3 separate regions of the Homo sapiens genome follow, and regions 2 and 3 are each linked to region 1. Evidence: promoter capture Hi-C in 16 types of primary human blood cells and fetal thymus (Javierre and others, 2016). All regions are on one chromosome and are shown on one strand. Each heading gives the region's core, a stretch centred on a gene start or on the middle of the fragment in contact. The rest is flanking DNA. Distances are from core to core; before and after follow the strand shown. Region 1 holds the start of PPIL6 (peptidylprolyl isomerase like 6). Region 2 overlaps LOC124901372 (a long non-coding RNA gene). Region 3 has its middle 73 kb from the start of GPR6.

Region 1 (3,255 bases), core at 222-2,721:
CCTTCAGAAAAAGAGCGAAAAAAAAGAGAAAAAAAATCTCTGAAACTCATTAATACATTAACTTTGTAATTAACTTCATGGCCATTAACTTTGGTAATAAAAGGTTGCTGATCCCGTCTGCCCAAGCAACACAGACCACAATTTCTACTTTTGATGATTCATGTATTATTTTCACAGACTTCTGATCACTTGTTTTCTTTTTATTATTTATTTATTTTGAGACGGGGTCTGGCTCTGTCGCCCAGGCTGGAGGGCAATGGCGCGATCTCAGCTCTCTGCAAACTCCGCCTCCCGGGTTCAAGCGATTCTTGTGCCTCAGCCTCCTGAGTAGCTGGGATTACAGAGACCGCCACCACGCCCGGCTAATTTTTTGTATTTTTAGTAGAAACGGGGTTTCACCATGTTGGCCAGGCTGGTCTAGAACTCCGCCTCTGCCTCCCAAAGTGCTGAGATTATAGGCGTGAGTCACCGCGCCAAGATATCTTCTATTTGGGAACATTTTGTTGTCAAGTATCCAGCTGGGTACTTCGGGAGTTAAAAACATTAATTAAGGCATGGTCCTGGAGTCAAGTGAGCTTCGGCGAGAAGTTTGCCATGGACAGCATTTCTGGAGCAAACCCTGTAAGAAGGGCTGAATTCTACATGCCGACATTTCATACATTTCTCCTGCATTTCAGGTTGTAAGTGTGCTGCAGCATGACTGATCTGGCCAAATTCTTCCAGTTTCCTCAAGTGCTTTTCCTTTAGTATCGTTCTGAGTGTTTACAAAGAAATGATTTTCCAAAGCACTTGTGAAGCATCTAGTTCGATTGGAACGCAGTGACGGCTCTATAAAATTCAAAGAAAAGAATCTCCCCGCATGAATAGTTAACAAAAATCGCTTGGGCCGAGGTGGCGGGGTTGTAAAAATTAGCTAGTTATATAGTAATCATTTTTCCATAAATTTAAATATCTCTAATTAAAGAAAAAATTGACGTAGAACAAAATCTGCGGGTGTGTGTGTGTGTGTCTCGGAGGGGATTACCTTATCTCCCAGCGCGGTTCTGAACCCTTCCTTCGCTCAGTTCTCCCTTTAAAAGTCGCCAAGTGGAACGCCCGCCCCCGGACCCGCACTTGCCCCCCTATACTCTCCTCCCGGTCCTCCAGACGGAGCCCGCCCGGCCAGGACACGCCAGCCCCTTCCTCGGCCGGTGGGGCCTCGACCCCCGCCGCCTCGAGGAGGCGCGGCGCCTGCAGTCCACGCGGCCGAGAGCGGGTAGCGGGGAGGGCCGCCCACGACGGAGGTTTCTCTGTGGTTACCTCAGCGGCGCTCTTCGCAATCTGAAAGTTGGGGCAGCTGAAGAGCCCCACCACCTTCACCTGCAGCGGCCGCTCCGGCAGCGACGGCGAGCCGCACCTAGCGTGCGGGGGCCCGCACGGCTGCGGCCTTGCCATGGCCGCGCCCGGGGACGCCCGGTGACCCCAAACACTGCGCGTCGCTCCGGCAACCGCGCGGCCCCGCCTCCGCCGCTCGCAGGAGGCGGGGCCCAGGGGCGGGTCGAGGGCGGCCCGTGGCGGCTGGGCCTTTCCTCAACTTTGCGCCTGTTGCTGGGCCGCCGGCGCGCGGGCGGCCGCGACCGCCGGGGACGAGCTTGGAGGAAAAGGAACCGGGAGCCGCCCACCCGGGGGCGCTCTCCGGACCCCCAGGGTCCTAGCGCGCGGCCCTTACCGAGCCTGGGCGCCCGGATTTCGGCAGCGGATCGCCTTTCCGGGTTGGCGGCCCGCCTGATTGGGAACAGCCGGCCGGTTGCCGGGGGAACGCGGGAGTCGGGCCCGACCTGAGCCACGCGGGCTTGGTGCCCACCTGTGCGCGCCGCCTGCGAAGAAGGAACGGTCTGGGGAGAAGGCGCCGCCGGCCGCCCCCGTCCCCACCGCGGCCGTCGCTGGAGAGTTCGAGCCGCCTAGCGCCCCTGGAGCTCCCCAACCATGAAGCCCAACTTCTCCCTGCGACTGCGGATCTTCAACCTCAACTGCTGGTGAGTGCGTCTGCGGAGTGCGGTCTGGGGGCCACCTTCCGTTCGCACCCATGCAGCCTTCCTCCCCCTATCCCGCCCCACGATCTCAGGGTGTAGGGAAAACCCGAACCTCCAAAGTCCACATCTGGCCCCAGCGCCGGTGGTCCCAGCAGTCGCCTCCCCTGCCCCGCTCTTCCCTTCCTTAGGGGCATTCCGTACTTGAGCAAGCACCGGGCCGACCGCATGAGGCGCCTGGGAGACTTTCTGAACCAGGAGAGCTTCGACCTGGCTTTGCTGGAGGAGGTGAGATTGTGCAGCACGGTGCGGAACCCAGGCTGGGAGGAGGGACAGACCGTCCCACTGGGGAAAGACCAAGCAGGCATCCTCACCGCTTCCCTCAGGTGTGGAGTGAGCAGGACTTCCAGTACCTGAGACAGAAGCTGTCACCTACCTACCCAGCTGCACACCACTTCCGGAGGTGAGAAGCCCACTGGCCTGAAGCCTGTTGTCATCCCAGGAGGCTCTTGGCCCTGCCAGCCCTTCCCTATCCTGCCTGCACTCTCCAGTCTCCTCCAGCCTCCTCTCCCTCTGGATGTGAGAGAAGGAGAAGGGTGAACCAAGAAGGTCCTATGACTTCAGCCCATTTCAGCTTTGTTTTCTGGCTGCCCTATACTCCTCCAAAGGCTGTCGCCTTGGTTCTAGGGCTAGTCCCAGCAGTAGAAAAAGAAAAAAATAGCTGATCAGAGCTGGAAGACAAGGGAGGGGAAGAAGGCTGGGTGTCTCTCCCTGTTTTTCTGGTTATTAAGCAGGGCTTGGCTTTCAGCGGAATCATTGGCAGTGGCCTCTGTGTCTTCTCCAAACATCCAATCCAGGAGCTTACCCAGCACATCTACACTCTCAATGGCTACCCCTACATGGTAAGGCAGACCTTTGACCTCTTCCACCTCCCTTCCCCACCTCCAGTAATACAAGGTAGAGGAGGCAGCCCTCTGAGAGCTGCAGGGGATGGGCAGAAAGATGGTGGCGGTGCCCTGAGTTTCTATCTCCTCCTGCCTGCAGATCCATCATGGTGACTGGTTCAGTGGGAAGGCTGTGGGGCTGCTGGTGCTCCATCTAAGTGGCATGGTGCTCAACGCCTATGTGACCCATGTGAGTGAAGCTGGCAGTGCCTAGGGCTGGGACATGCAGCCCAGTCCTGGGACAGAGAGATGGTACTTCTCTAGCTCTCATACCTGGGGATGAGGTGTGGGGGCAAGATCTT
Region 2 (3,255 bases), core at 355-2,854, 890 kb before region 1:
TAGAGACGGGGTTTCACTGTGTTGGCCAGGCTGGTCTCGAACTCCTGACCTCATGATCCGCTCGCCTGGGCCTCCGAAAGTGCTGGGATGACAGGCGTTAGCCACTGTGCCTGTCCCACATCAATGTTTTAAAGTAATTTGTATTTAAAGTTCCAATTACTAAGCATTTTGTTTATTTATGTATTTATTTTTGAGAGTCTTGCTCTGTCGCCCAGGCTGGAGTGCAGTGGCATGACCTCAGCTCACTGCATCCTCTGCCTCCCGGTTTCAAGTGATTCTCCTGCCTCAGCCTCCCGAGTAGCTGGGATTACAGGTGCGCACTACCACGCCCAGCTAATTTTTGTATTTTTAGTAGAGATGAGGCTTCACCATGTTGGCCAGGCTGGTCTCGAACTCCTGGCCTCAAGTGAACCTCCCGCCCCTGCCTCCCAAAATGCTGGGATTATAGGGGTGAGCCACTGCGCCCAGCCAGCATTTTAAATAGATTTTCTAACACATGGACATGGACACATGCTCACTTCACAAATTTTTGCAAGATGAGAAATGGAGTAGATGGACCACTTACAAAGCTCAATGCCATTTGCTGGAGGCCAGTCAGCCGGAAGCATTGCATTAATTTTGATTTTGTCTTCCTTTCCTCTAGAAGAGATTGATTAACATTTACAACAGGAGTTTTTACATTTACATTTTAAAAATGTAGTCACAACTCTCATTCTTACTGCTGGGTTTCAAAAAAAATTGAGTACTTTGTTTCTAACTTCCTTCAATTGACAAACGATAACATATAGTGTTTAGCCTGATCCCTGTGTCTTCAAGGACATAATATCTAGCTGGGAAGAAAAACAAAGAAGTATTTTGATTTCAAATCTACTCAGTTGTTTTTTATAGACTCTTGTTCCTTTCTTCTATTTTCAAACTTCCTTTTTGTTTAAACCTATTAAGTACACTTATTTTCTGTGTCAGCTTATTCTCATACCCCAGCCTTTGTGTATCTGACCTTACATTTTGTTTCTGTCTGCTCCTACATGGAGCCTTGCTTATTATATGTTTTGTGTTTTCTGATTATGATTATGGAAGTTCTTTGGGGCCTAGGCTCAAGATAGCCCTCCAAGAGGATGTGTCTTTCCTTCTGCCAGTTGTTAAAAGCACCACAAACTGGGGCTCATGAAGTTTTTAAAATAATTCCATGGTATCATGAATTTTGGTCATAATATTACATACGGACCACACCATAGTTGTGAATTTTCAAGGAAGAATATTTTTTATACTCTTTTATTCAGGGCTTTGATCAAGACAGACGATTTTTCCTGGGATCCTCTTCTGCAAAGCCAGTTAATTTCACATTCGCCTTTACTTTGGCCCTTTGGACTTCTGGTTTTAGGGGGGTAGAGTCTTCTTATTCTCCTGATCTTGGACAAGACTGAGGATTTATCTTCTGTGTCCCAGACTCTACACACCTGTCAAAGTAGAAGCTCAAATGTTGTCAGATTTTCTAGGAGTGTGCTCACTTCCCACCTTAACTTTGTTTTTGGTCTCTGTGGGTTTCTTCCTTTTTTGCCAGCTCAATAAAATCCATTTAAAAAATTTTTAAAAATCTTATCCAGCTTTAGTTTTCATCAGGAAGTTTGTTCTGGTTATTTGCTCCATTGTGTTAAATTGAAGTACTTTAAAAACAAGGTTAGATAATGTATAATCAGTTGCTAAGCAGAATCGACGTACAGTTTCTCCAGTGCTTCTGTTTCCTTTACTTTCTATTCAGAACAAATCTTCCTCCTCAGAATGCAAGACAGTGGCTGAGTGGAGTAGGGGCAATGGTGTGCTGGCAGACTGGCCCTCCGAAAGAAGAAAAGGAAGGAAAAAAAAAAGCAAGCAAGCCTTGATGGATTTGCCAATTTCTGTGATGTAAATACTCCCATAGTAGTCCATTTCAAACTACCAAGATGTGCACAGTCTTCTCTCATGAACTGGAGCGGGTCAATGCCACTATGAAGGTAAAAGATCCAAATCAGGGTGGCTAAGTCACCCAGAGATTGGTGGGGAGAGCCTGATGAGGAAGAGGTGAACTAACTAGAGCACATACCAGCTAACTGTTACCCTGTGGGTATAGTGCCAGTGTTACCATATCTTCCAATTTCTCAAGAAGAGCTAGAAATCCAAATTTTAGGTGAAATCTCTTCCTTTTAAATGTTGGCAACAGACTAAGAAACTTTTTTTTTTTTTTTAAGAGATGGAGTCTTTCTCTGTCATCCAAGCTGTAGTGCAGTGGCACAATCATATTTCACTGCAGCCTTGAATTCCTGGACTCAAGTGATCCTCCCACCTCAGCCTCCCAAGCACCTGGGGGACTACAGGTGCATGCCACCACACCTAGCTAATTTTAAAAGATTTTAGAGATGGGGGTCTTGCTATCTTGCTCAGGCTGGTCTTGAATTCCTGACCTCAAGAGATCAAAAATTTAAAAAACACCAGAGAGAACCAAAAACTAACCCTATTGGGGCAGATTTGGCCAGATAACCACTAGCTTTAGACAGGTTGGGGAAGTGTCTCGGGTTATGTTTGCTTATCTGGTTCCAGCCCCTTTTCTCCAGGCCAAAAGGCTCACATAAAGCCCCCTTTCTTTAGGCTCATTTTGGAGAGGCAGTGCAGTACTGGGGAAGAGGAGAATGCACCATGGACTCAGAATTCTCAGTTCGAATCCTAGGCCTGCCACTCACTGTGTGACCTGAGGCAAATCCTGGTAAAATGAGAGGGATGGTCCCTGCTGTGGTAGGTTGTTCTAGAAACAAACCGAGATGTTTTGTGTATGGAAGCTGCCCCCTGTGTGTAGTCAGTTCATGGCTCTGTCCTCATTCTAAGCAGGAACCAGAGAGTCAGAGCTGAAGGCAAACGCTGGCATGTGCAGCACAGAGACCTCTATCTCAGGGTTCTCAACCTTCACTGCCTTAGATTCACCTGGCAAATATTTAAAAACAACAACAACAACAATCAGTCAATGCCAGACCCTGACCTCAGAATTTCTAATTCAGTTGGTCCAAGGTGGAGCCTGGGCATGACTATTTTTAAAGCACCCCCTAGTGCTCTAATACTAAGTGCTTTAGATTCATAATTTCAATTATCCCAATCCTTCCAACAATCTTAGAAGGTATTCTCATTTTAAAGATAAAGACATGAGGCTTCATGATTAAGTAATATCCCAAGGTCGCATGGCTGGTAAATGAGGAATCAGACTTAACTCAGAGCCTGAATTCTCAACCC
Region 3 (3,255 bases), core at 257-2,756, 610 kb after region 1:
CCTGTTTGCATGGCTCTTTACAGAATATCAAAAGATGCATGAGATACATGTCAATTGCACATACCAAACACTGGCAGGGGAAGGAGGATCTGGTTCCCCCGACCGCAGAATGGGAAACCAGGCAGGAAGCTGCTGTTTACCAGGCATAGCACCAGGTCCTTTCACATCAATTGCATTATTTAATCCTCATAATAGCTTGTCAAGCCGGTGTGGTCACCACATCTTTATATGTGAGAAAACCAAGTCTCAGTGAGAGTACATTAAACCTAAGGTGTCATAGCTAGAGAATGGTAGTGCTGTCTAATGTCAAAGCTGCTGTTCTTTCCAACACATAATAATAATGGACTCGATACATCTTATGAGCTGCCTTAGACTATTTAAGCTCTAAATCCTTCCACCCTCCATTATCCATGTAACGTCTGCAGCCCCTGCATCAACTGACTCTGCCAGATGATTCCACAGTAGGGCATGGAGTCACTGACCAGCAGCCAGAGCTGAGACTCCATGCGCCCCTCCCAGACTTGGAAGAAGAGCCACACCACAATGCACGGGGGATGGATTCCTCAGCAGTTTCTAAAAGGGCCAGGTGATGCAACCCCAAAGTGTGGGATATGAAACTCCACAGGGGATGAACCTTGATCTGTTGGGGATAGGAGTCAGGAGGGATTCTGCAGATCAAGTCGCCTGCTATTCCTTCCTCTGGCCTGTCCAAAAGGCATCTCCTGGGGCCATCTGACAGGCTGTGTCTTCGTGAAGCCTTGGCCAGGTCAGCAGCGGGGCCCGGCATTTGCTTCCCATCCTTCCCTGCCTCACACTGGCTGCCCTACTATTGCACTTCATTAAAAAGCATTACTACTTCAACTTTGCCTCAGATTCTGTTTTCCAGGGAATCCAGATTAAGCCAAAAAGAACAGGAAACATTTAGATGGATTATCTCATTTAATACTCATGGCATCCAAATAAAGTGTTATTATCCCAGTTTTACAGATAAAGTAACTTGTGGTTAAAATCATACACACACATGAACAGTGCAACCGGCATCCAGACTCAAGCAGCCTGACTAGGTCCCACTCCTCTAACTCTGCAGCAGGGACCGGAGCCTGATTAGGTCCCACACCTCTAACTCTGCAGCAGGGACCGGTACACTCCTATCAGCCTCGTTCATCTGATCCTCTATATGCCTCACCTCTAGTAAATATTTCCTGTGGAAACAAATGCTAGATATACTCGACTATTCATTCTCTCTATCTTGTAAAAGAATACAACTTCAGGACACTAATAACATATTCCCAGCCTTCCTTGCAGCAAGGTACAGTCAATTAGTTCTGACTACTGCCATGTAAGAAGAAATGAGGTAAATGGCTTCCAAATGGTGCCTTCGAAGAGAAAGAGACAGCTTCCCCTTCTCTTCCCCTTCTCCCTTGGCTAGAATGCAGACATGGTAAGTGGAGTCGTTGCTGCTTAGACAATCAGATGGAACCCACATGTTGGGGATGGCTGTGGAATGAGATGAAAGAGCCTGGGTCTCCCACACCATTGAACCAGGATACCAGCCCTGGACTTCTAGGCTTGAACAGTTATGGAAGAGAAACCAACTTCTTTCTTGCTTTGTCCACTGCTGTTTTCGTCTTTGCTATAGCATCCGAACTTGCATCCTAATATACTTTTCAATAGGCAGTTAATTTTATGTGTCAACTTGACTGAGCCTTGGGATGCCCAGATTCAATATTATTTCGGGGTGTGTCTGTGGGGATGTTCCTGGATGAGACTGGCATTTGAACTGGTGGGCTCAGTAATCCCACAGTGGGGACTCCCCTCCCCAGTGTGGGTGGGCATCATCCATTGAGGGCCTGAATGGAGCAAAAGGCTGAGAAAAAAGGAATTCACCTATTTTTTTCTTCCTGCCTCTCTGCTTAAGCTGGGACATCTCATCTCATCTTCTCCTACCCTTAGACTGGGGCTTACACCTTGGCTCCCCTGTTTCTGTGACCTTTGGACTCAGACTGAATTACCTTTTCCTGGGCCTCCAGCTTGCAGATGGCAGATCAGAACCTCTCAGCCTCCATAATCACATGAGCCGCTTCCTCATTTTATATATATATATATATATATATATATATATATATATATATATATATCCCAGTGCTTAGCCTCCGTAATCATGTGAACCAGTTCTTTATTATATATAAATATCTATATCCTATTGGTTCTGTTTCTCTAACACAGACAGTAAGCACAAATGGTTAGGAACAGGGCTGCACAGTCAGACATCTGGGTTCAAACTCTGGAGGATGGCTCACATTCTTTCCTACTAGTTGCTATTCACCTTTGACAGCCACTTTCTAGACCTTCCTCAGGGACAATTTTCTCATTCATGTACCACACATATGCAGCGTAGCACAATGGCTGAGCCCAAGGACCCCGGACATTTAGGCTGAAATCCTAGTTCTGTATGTTCTAAGTATATGACCTCGGGCAGGTTACTTAACTTCCGTGTGCCTCCATTTCTTCATATGTAAATGAGAATACTAGTAGTGCCTCCCTCACAGGGTTTGGTGAAAGCAAGGGAAACCAGAGCCACCCACTATGTGAATCCAGAGCAGACCAGCTTCCTAAGGCTTAAGGGTCCCTGTCATAGGACGTGGTATGTGATAGGCATTTAACAAATGTTAGCTGGTGTCCTTGCTGCTGATTATTCTTCTTCCCATATGAGCCTTGTATATAACAGGTGTCAATCCTTTCAGAAGGATTGAATGAATAGATGCCTAAACCACATTCTGTGGAGTAGAAGTCACAAACACAAACCAGATACAAAGGTGAGGTGTTTTACCCCAGATTGGGTACTGTGTGAGATCACTGCCCAACAGAGGGAACATGGCTCTCCAGTCTGGCAACCGTCGCAAGCATCCCTCCAGTTTCAAATGGAAGGTTTCAGTGTTGTTCCTGCCAAATCCTGGCCTAGGTCGTGGCTCCTCACTGACCTCCTCGGCGTGGGTAGGCATTCCACACAGCCCTGAGGACCCCACAAGACTCCATGCAGACTGTCCACAGTGCTTTCCCTCTGGGATGGGCCCCCTCTATTTGGGGAAACCACAAGAATTTGCAATTATCATTCCAAAATGGTAAGTATAATTCTTAACCAACGATGGAGTTCCAAGTCAGTCAGTCCTCAGTCCAGATGTGCAGTATGCACCCTCCCAGGACAGGACGCCCTGTTGCACCGGAGGCCGACTCCACAGAGTTCCTTCTCAGCCA

Evidence for each region. The method cuts DNA at HindIII sites, captures the fragments that hold promoters and counts their contacts. A CHiCAGO score of 5 or more calls a contact.
Region 2: a contact is called between a fragment that was not itself captured here and the fragment with the promoter of PPIL6 in region 1, in 1 of 17 cell types (total CD4 T cells). The highest score is 5.1, in total CD4 T cells.
Region 3: a contact is called between a fragment that was not itself captured here and the fragment with the promoter of PPIL6 in region 1, in 1 of 17 cell types (neutrophils). The highest score is 6.8, in neutrophils.

Annotation. Positions count from the first base shown.
Region 1 is chr6:109,439,157-109,442,411 of GRCh38, forward strand. PPIL6 (peptidylprolyl isomerase like 6) reads right to left here and starts at 1,472. Exons shown (of 8, transcript NM_173672.5): 1 at 1,300-1,472. The coding sequence starts at 1,434. SMPD2 (sphingomyelin phosphodiesterase 2) reads left to right here and starts at 1,568. Exons shown (of 10, transcript NM_003080.3): 1 at 1,568-2,015; 2 at 2,201-2,297; 3 at 2,396-2,472; 4 at 2,818-2,911; 5 at 3,054-3,143. The coding sequence starts at 1,966. RefSeq lists silencers at 1,063-1,882, 1,524-1,729 and enhancers at 2,143-2,212, 2,373-2,452. The HindIII fragment of the contact is 7,598 bases long and covers 1-3,255 here.
Region 2 is chr6:108,551,911-108,555,165 of GRCh38, forward strand. It overlaps LOC124901372 (a long non-coding RNA gene), which reads right to left. Exons shown (of 2, transcript XR_007059700.1): 2 at 1-1,457. Among named protein-coding and RNA genes, the nearest start is that of FOXO3, 7.4 kb to the right of the region's middle. The HindIII fragment of the contact is 5,724 bases long and covers 1-3,255 here.
Region 3 is chr6:110,049,657-110,052,911 of GRCh38, forward strand. No RefSeq gene overlaps it. Among named protein-coding and RNA genes, the nearest start is that of GPR6, 73 kb to the left of the region's middle. The HindIII fragment of the contact is 4,700 bases long and covers 1-3,255 here.